Linked DNA regions of Homo sapiens: region 2 is linked to region 1. The links are contacts of gene promoters, found by promoter capture Hi-C in human tissues and cell types (Jung and others, 2019). All regions are on one chromosome and are shown on one strand. Each heading gives the region's core, a stretch centred on a gene start or on the middle of the fragment in contact. The rest is flanking DNA. Distances are from core to core; before and after follow the strand shown.

The links. The method cuts DNA at HindIII sites, captures the fragments that hold promoters and counts their contacts. A contact is called where the count stands out against the background at its distance.
Region 2: a fragment that was not itself captured here is called in contact with the fragment with the promoter of DMRT2 in region 1 in 2 of the 25 tissues and cell types used here (lymphoblastoid cells and mesenchymal stem cells).

What each region holds. Positions count from the first base shown.
Region 1 is chr9:1,049,107-1,051,606 of GRCh38, forward strand. It overlaps DMRT2 (doublesex and mab-3 related transcription factor 2), which reads left to right and starts at 1,251. Exons shown (of 4, transcript NM_181872.6): 1 at 1,251-1,669; 2 at 2,464-2,500. RefSeq lists an enhancer at 1,023-1,892. The HindIII fragment of the contact is 14,990 bases long and covers 1-2,500 here.
Region 2 is chr9:1,087,727-1,093,880 of GRCh38, forward strand. No RefSeq gene overlaps it. Among named protein-coding and RNA genes, the nearest start is that of DMRT2, 40 kb to the left of the region's middle. The HindIII fragment of the contact is 5,637 bases long and covers 1-5,415 here.

The sequences.
Region 1 (2,500 bases), core at 1-2,500:
TGCCTGGTCACCGGGGAGGAACTTTACAACATCACTGAAGGTTTGAGAATAGTGCTTCTGGCTGGTCGCGGTAGTTCCTAAGCTGCCTTTGTTCCCACTTCTCTGATCCAGGTTAACTTTTAACATTCTGACAAACTCGGACAAAAGTAACGTTGGGATTACGTCAGGAATTCCCACCCTTCAACAAATATTTGTTGCGGGCCTACTATGTACTCAGTGCAATGATACCCAATTTTGTAGTCTCCTAAACAGATCCTACTCGAGAGGTCTTGATTATTTACAGATGCAGTTAGAAAAGCGCCCATATTATTTTTAATTGAGTTCAAGAAATAGAATGCAGCGTTGAATTAGAAGACTAATTCCTTCTTTTAATATGTTGAAAATTTTTTATCGTTAAACATTTTGTAAAGGATTTTTTGAGGGAGTCGTTAGAAAGTCTATAAATACAACTACGCACACTAAAAAGTAGTCATCTTTTTAAAAATAACTTTGTTTAAATGCATGCTTAGTGTGAATGGATTTACCTAATTCTCTTAATAGCATGCATTTCTGATCTTCCCTACATTAACTGTAATAGCAACTGATATAACAGAAAAATGTAAGTGACTTGTAGTCGACTTGGCCACCTGCCACACGGGCTCGGTGAAGGTTAATGAGGAGCTATTTGGCACTTCGAGAATAGGTGGCACTAGACACAGAAATATCAACAGGCTATTTGTATGCTAACTAGGAGTTTCGGTGCCAGGTAACCATTGATGTACTCTTGCAGGAGAAAGAAGGATGTCGCTGTACGCCCCGAAAGAGAGGCATCATTTTTACGCCCAGTTTGGATTAATGATTGATTGAGTCGCAGAAATGCTTGTGATGCTGATAGAGGCCAATACTGGTCTTTCTGATCTCTTCCTCGTCGTTTATTACCTTCTCTTGTGGACAACGCATTCCTAAGAATGTATCTCTGCTTGTTTCCCAGTCCGCGAGATAAATGGTGACTTCTCTCTTGCAGGCACCGTCATACCTCGGGTTTAGATTCTGGACAGGCGAGCCGGCTGCACCGAAGGCCCGGTAGGCGGACTCTGGCGGAGCGCTTCAGAGAGAAGAGTGTAGACCGCGGGAGGCGGAGGGCTCCCTGCCAGCGTGCCTCGGCCAATCAGTATTCACACCGCCTGACAACCGGCCAATCAGAGGACGTAAAGCTCCGGGGCCTGAGCGGACAGTACTAGGAAGGGGAGCGCAGTCTGCAGACTGAAGCCAGTGGCGCTGCGCTGAATGCAACTGCGCGCGCCCGCCGGGTGAGCCAGCGATCTGAGCCAGGCGGGGGCGGCCCGACCTTTCCCGCCCAGCCTGGGTCAGAGGAAGCCGAAAGCGGCCTCAGCAAGGTGAGGCGCCCGAGGCTGCAGAAGACCGAGCAGAACTTTGCAGAGTTCGGGATGTGCTGGGCTAGGTCGCTGAGGACTTGACTGGCTTCCTCCCTCCTTCCCTCCACCTACCTTCTCCCTCCCCCTCCACCATCCAGTGGGTTCGTTCCGGGCCTCCAGCTATCAGCTCCCGATCTCGTGTTTGAGGGTAGCGACCCCGATTTCTGTTTGCATGCACAGCCAGCAGCCCTAGCGCCAGATCCTAAAGCTGGATATCTTTTAACTGGGCTACCAGCCCGGGCCTCAAAGTTTTGGTGAGTGCTGTGATGCCGCTCGGGGTGTCAGGGAGGGCAAAGGGCGTGAATCATCTTTCACCTTTTCTGTGTGACTTGGATGCCTTACCTTAAATATATAAACCAAGGCCTAAGTACAGAGAGCCCACGCGGCTCAGCCCTGTGCACCTCAGGTACTATTAAGGCTGGACGGGCGTCTGTATTGTGCTCTTTGCCCTTATGGGACGCTAATGACAACAAAATTTTGGTTTTCAGTTGAGTATTTTGGGGAGGGGGGTGAGAGGACCTCTTCAAGCCCAAGGAGGGGTCCTTGTGGTGGTGTAGGCTGATGAGAGGCATTTGGGAAGCATAGAGTGGTACTTCAGTGAGTCTGAAGGGCCACTTGTAATCAAAGGAAAACTGTTCTTCCACGGATAGTTTTATATGCATCATGGCCATACTAGTTGAGTATGGGGAAATCCGACAAGTGGCCTGGGGCTGCCTATTTGGACACAATATTTTGTGTGTGTGTGATAAGTGAGTTACCCAGGGACTTGTCCGGAAAGCCCGTGTAAAGCCAGAGAGGGCCACGGTTAAAGGTCAGGTACTCACAGAGCACTTAGAATTAATAAAATAAAACCTTTGTTGGGTTGTGGATCCCTGGGGGCCCTGGAGATACAGGAAAGGCACGTGTGGCCTGGAAGTGAGGGACATGTAATGAGAACAGGATGACTCAAGCGGCCGGAGGCGGGCAGACCAGGAGCTTTGGGCCGGAGGCTCAGGGATGGTCCCTGACGGCGGCCGGTGGGTCTTTGGATTTCTTTGTGTTTCCCCAGAGTGAGGGCCGCCAGGCTCAGGCCCCAGCGAAGCCCC
Region 2 (6,154 bases), core at 1,347-3,846, 40 kb after region 1:
TGGTTTTGGATGTTACAAATATTTTCCCCCAGACTCATTCATTTGTTCCTTTGTTTATGGTGTTCTTTATTTTGATAGAATCAAATACATCAATTAAAAAAATCTTTGAGATTTTAGGGTCTTGTTCCAGAAGTCTTTCCCTCACTCTTATATAAAAAATATACTGTTCTACATTTTCTTTAAAATTTATTTTACATTTTCTTTATATTTCTTCTTTCTTTTCTTTTTCTTTTTTTCTTTTTTGAGACAAGGTCTTGTTCTGTCGCCCAGACTGGAGTGCAGTGGCACAATTAAAGCTCACTACAGCCTTGAATTCCTGGGCTCAAGTGATCCTCCCACTTCAGCCTCCCAAGTGGCTGGAACTACAGGCCAGCACCACTACGCCCGGCTAACTTTTGGATTTTTGTAGAGACTGGGTCTTCCTGTGTTGCCCAGGCTGGTCTCCATCTCCTGGGCTCAAGCATTTCTCCTGCCTTGGCCTCCCAAAGTGTTGAGATTACAGGTGTGACCCACTGCACCTGGCCTCTTCTCTATTTGATTTTTTAAAAATAATTTTACCTCTTACATTTATGTCTTTAATCCATTCAAAGCACACTTTTTCATTGTTTAATGTAAGTTATAAGGTCTAACATTATTTTGCCTTATCATAGTAATTCACTTTCCGGTCACAATTTGCAAATGATCCATCCTTTCTGCGTGTTATGTGGTTCCAACTTCATCTTTACGAAGTTCCCATATATATGTAGTACTACTTCTAAGACCTCTGTTCTTCTGCAGTGGTTCAGATTCAGCACCACGCTATTTTTATGGCTCCATCATGTCTCAGTGTCTGATGAAGTGAGTATTCCTCTCCTTGCTTATCTATTTCAAAGTGGCCTTAGCTATTTTTGAAATTTTACTTTTCCGTATAAATTTTAAGAGTGAATTTGTGGAGTTCCTTAAAAAATCCTTTTGCAAATTTGATGGGATTGCTTTGAATGTACAGATTAATTTGGGGAGCACTGACACCTTTACTTTGACATGTCATCTTTGACATTTCAAAGAGTTGATGTCTACCCATTTATTCAGAATTTTCTTTAGTTTTTATTCTGTAAAAATCAAAGTTTTTTTGTTGATTTCCAGACTGATTATAATCTCTTACTATTGCGAATGATATCTTATTGTTGAGGTCATCATTGCTAGCACAGAGGAATATTATTGTGTTTTGTAAATTTTATCCTATAATAGAACAACCTTGTCAAACTCTTACTAATTCTAATAGTTTGTTAATTCTGTTGAATCTTCTGCGTGGATAATACTTTTGTCTGAAAATAGTAAGTTTACTTTCCCCATCTAATCCTTACGCATCTAATGTCTTTTTCTTGCCTACAGCATTGGTTAGTTCTTTTTGTACTATGTTAAGTGGAGAAATGATAACAGGAATTCTTGTCTTGTGTCCAATATTATTGGGAATACATTTCTCTGTTACATGTGATGCTTAGTGTAGGTTTTTGATATGTAGCCTATTTTAAGCCAAGGAAATTACCTAAGATTCATAACTCTCTGGGGTCACTGAACTTCATCAAATGCTTTGTCTGCATGTTTTTATATAATCAAGTGATTTTTGTCCTTCATACCATATTGCCTCTCACTCTAAAGAACGAACGGAAGGGGCAAGGAGGGGGATTATTAGGCATGTGTCCTGTGCCAAGGAATCCTGATGGGCTGAAGTGAGAATTAGACATTATGGGAAAATTTCAATGAACAATACCAGGGGCAGGTAATCAGTGGTTCTCCAGGGCTTCAGAGGAAGCAATGGAAGGGGTAGGGAGAGAAGTAATCACATTAAGATGGTAAGGTGGTGTAATTAAAAGAGGAAAAAGTCACTTAAATTTACTGAGTACTTTTTATGTGTCAGGCTCAGAAGCCATTTTAAAGCTTAAACCTCATAACAACACTGTGAGGTGGTCATTATTTTGCCTGCTTTAAAGAGGAAGAAACAAAGGCTTAATGAAGTTAGGTAACTTGCCCAGGTTCTTGCAGCTAGAAAGTGCTAATGCCAGGACTCTTTCCAAAGCCCAGGTCTCGTTCCAAAGCGCAGGTCTTTTCCACATGCCATAGTATGTTCCTTAAAAGATTTCTAATGATAATACAAAGGAGATATGAAAATGAAACCTAGTCAGTCATCAAAAACACTGAAATAGTTCTATCTCAGTATATACAAATTTGTGAAAAAAGAAAATGAACCAGAGGTCCTTTGAGAAATGAGTGATTCCAACTAGAACAGAGAAAGTAAGAGATAAGCTTGGAACACGTTATTATGCCAGAAAGTAAAAAAGTCCTCATACAAAGTAATGGAGACCTGTGAAAAGGCTATAGGAATCAGCTTGAAGGGGCTGTAGCTGGCCAAATTTAGAAAAATTTGAGCATCAAAAGAACAGTAATTTATGGAAATCCATTGAATAAAATAATTCACAAGTTTGTGCTGATAATAAATAATAGAAAAATAAATAAAAATACGGGAGAAAAGAAGCTTTTACTTGAGGTAGAATACCAACCTATAAATATGGAGGGAGTGGTATGGTTGGAAAAAATAACTATTTTGCAATAATCATAACAAAGATTGTTTTAGGCTTGAATCATCAGTGGATACTATATCTAGGGTATAAATATTGATGCAGATCATGACATTTTCATGGTCTTAAAATGTTTACTCCTAGATTACCTATTAGATGGAAGGGAGGAGTGTAGTAAATGTATAGTGGAGAAAGTGGACAACACCTTGATCTAGTAGTAAAAATTAATATCACCAGTGATGGACTCATATGCCTCCAGATGTGATATTTTGAGAAGGACACAACACCACTTTATGTGGTGTTCTGTAGTATACTGTAGTAATATGTGTAGTATATGCAGTTTGAATTTAATCATAAGGAAACATCAGCCAACCTCAAATTGAGGAGCATTGTATAGAATAGCTGACCCCTGCTGAAAGACTGAGGAACTAACTGTTCCAGATTTAAAGAGATTGAAAAGATGTAACATATAAAATCCAACATGTGATTCTTGACAGTATCCTGTACAGGAGAGAGAAATGTTCTAAAAGACATTATTGGTATAATTGACAAAACTGGATTATTGGTGGTAGATTAGATAAAACTATTATCATCTATTTTGGATTTCCTGAATTGTGTAGCTAGTGTAGCATTGTAAAAGAATATCCTTGCTCTTAAGAAACACATACTAAAGTATTGAGAAAAGGAGTGTTCACAAATGGTTAAGAAAAGAAACCGACGATAAAGTGAATATTGGTAGAAGAAAAAGAAAATATGCCAATATGGAAAAAATTAGTGAAACTGAATAAAGGGTATATGAAAGTTCTCTGTATGATTTTTACATCTTCTTAGTAAGCATGCAATTATTTCCATATTGAAAAATACTGCAGAAAAATTTAGTACATGTGGTCATTTGTCAAAAATACTGATGAGCCTGGGCGACATAGTGGGACTCCATATCTACAAAAAATACAAAAATGAGCCAGGTATGGTGACACACACCTGTAGTCTCAGCTACTTGGGAGGCTGAGGCAGGAGGATTGCTTGAGCACAGGAGGTCGCCACTGCACTGGAGCCTGGGTGACAGAGTGAGACCCTGTATCAAAAAAAAAAAAAAAAAAAAAAAAGAAAAGAAAAAACAACAAAAAATTCTGATGAGTTTCGGCAGTCAACATTTGACCCATGACATCTCTATTTCCCTAGGAGAATGAAATAATAGCATTCCTGAAGGGCATATTGGTCCCCAAGACTGACTCATTAGGAGTGAAGACTTCCTACTTGTTGTTGGCTTAACTGCCTTTTGCTTGTAGGTTTAGTAACAGAATTATAAAAAGAGGAGCCATTTATTGGGGAACAGAGGGTTTTGTTTCCTTACTCAAAATAGAATATGCCAAACCTAACAATTTCAATTTTGCTAAAACTTTAACATCTCAATTCCCCAATATGATATGTTTATAATAATATTCCTTAAGAAATCACCCCTCTATAGTACCCTGAACTGGTGGGGACTGAAAAACATTTACTCTTTAGTTTAATTTCCAACTGTGTTCCAAGATTCCATATGGAGTTCAGGATTACTTTTGGGATATGGTTTGAGCAGTAGCAAGGAAGTCACCCTGATTGTATTATCTCTAATATTTTGCCTATCAGAAGTGAATAGGAATGTTACAAGTTGGGTTGTGTTTCTTTTCTTTGTTGTTTAAAATACATTTGAAAAATTGTGGTAAAATATATATAACATAAAATTTACCAGTTTAACTTTTTGAAATTATCCAGTTGACCCTTGAACAACACGGGTTTGAACTACACAGATCCACTTATATGTGGATTTTTTTCCCAATAAATACATTAGACAATTTTTTGGAAATTTGTAACAATTTGCAAAAACTTGCAGATGAACCCCTATAGCCTGGAAATATTGAAAAAAGAAAACGGTATATCATGAATGCATAAAATATATGTAGATACTAGTCTATTTTGTCACACACTACCATAAAATATACACAAATCTATTATAAAAAGTTAAAATTTATCAAAACTCACACATACAAACACAGACCATATATGGTACCGTTTACAGTCTAGAGAAATGTAAACAAACATAAAGATGCAGTATTAAATCATAACTGCATAAAATTAACTGTACTACATTCTGTACTATTGTAATAATTTCATAGCCACCTCCTGTTGCTCAAATATTGTAAGTATCTGCTTAAAACACCATGTGATGCTAATCATCTCTGTGTGAGCATTTCACCTCTCGAGTAAATTCTTTTTTCTTTTTTCTTTTTTTCTTTTTTTTTTTTTTTGAGACGGAGTCTCACGCTGTCGCCCAGGCTGGAGTGCAGTGGCGCGATCTCGGCTGCCTGCCACCTCCGCCTCCCGGGTTCAAGCGACTCTGCTGCCTCAGCCTCCCGAGTAGCTGGGACTACAGGCGCGCGCGCTACCAAGCCCAGCTAATTTTTGCATTTTTAGTAGAGACAGGGTTTCACCATATTGGCCAGGATGGTCTCCAACTCCTGACCTCGTGATCCGCCCGCCTCGGCCTTCCAAAGTGCTGGGATTACAGGCGTGAGCCACCGCGCCCAGCGAACTTTATTTCTTATAAAGGGTTACAACCTGCAGACTGGAAAGAGGAGTCTCTGGCCAAAACCAAAAGCAGACACTTCAGAGACAAAAGGGAGAGATGCTGAGATTTATGCCCAGTATGATTAGCTATACATATATTCAGTAGGTTATAGGAGCATCTTGTTAATATTTATGAGGGAGTCTAACACATGCATAGTGAATACACATATATTACATACAACCCATGTTCACTTTGAGGTAGAGACTTAACATCCAAATGCAGTAAAATTAGGCTCTATACACCAAAAGGTGAAACATAGGGCATAAAGGCACTTAGTGCACAGTTTCTGTAAACTGGCCAGAATCTGTCTGTGGTTGGTGGACAGTTATTAGGATGGAATGCTTTGCAAGGCTGGCCGTGTGTAAGAGTGAAACTTTGATACAGACAGGAGGGAGGTGGACCACAATGTCGGATGGTCTGTCGAGGTTGCAGGGGAAGTCTTCCAGACATAGTTTTTTAGGAACTGGTTTTTCTTTAATTGTAGGAAAGTCTTGAGGTGGTTAATGAGATAGGGGAGAGTTGAGGCATGACTGACCTCTTGCGTTGCCAAAGCTGTAGAATACAGCTTAAAAGGTTTTCTGGGATCTCTTGCCACAGGCAGTCCATTTCATTCTGCCTGGAGGGCCTAAGAGCTTTATTTTTATTTTATAATGACAATACTGTAAACCTTGAACAACACCGTGGGACCTATGCAAAGTGCTACTAGTGATGCCAGAAATGCTCCCAAGAAGCAGAGAAAAGTCATGACTTTACAAGAAAAAGCTGAACTGCTTGATATGTACCACAGATTGAGGTCTGCAGCTGTGGTTGCCTGCTGTGTCAGATCTTGTAAACAGATAACATAAACTTAGAGTATTGATAAATACAGTACAGTACTGTAAATGTATTTTCTCTTCGTGATGATTTTCTTAATGACATTTTCTTTTCTCTAGCTTACTTTATTGTAAGAATATAGTATATGATACATATGACATACAAAATATGTGTTAAT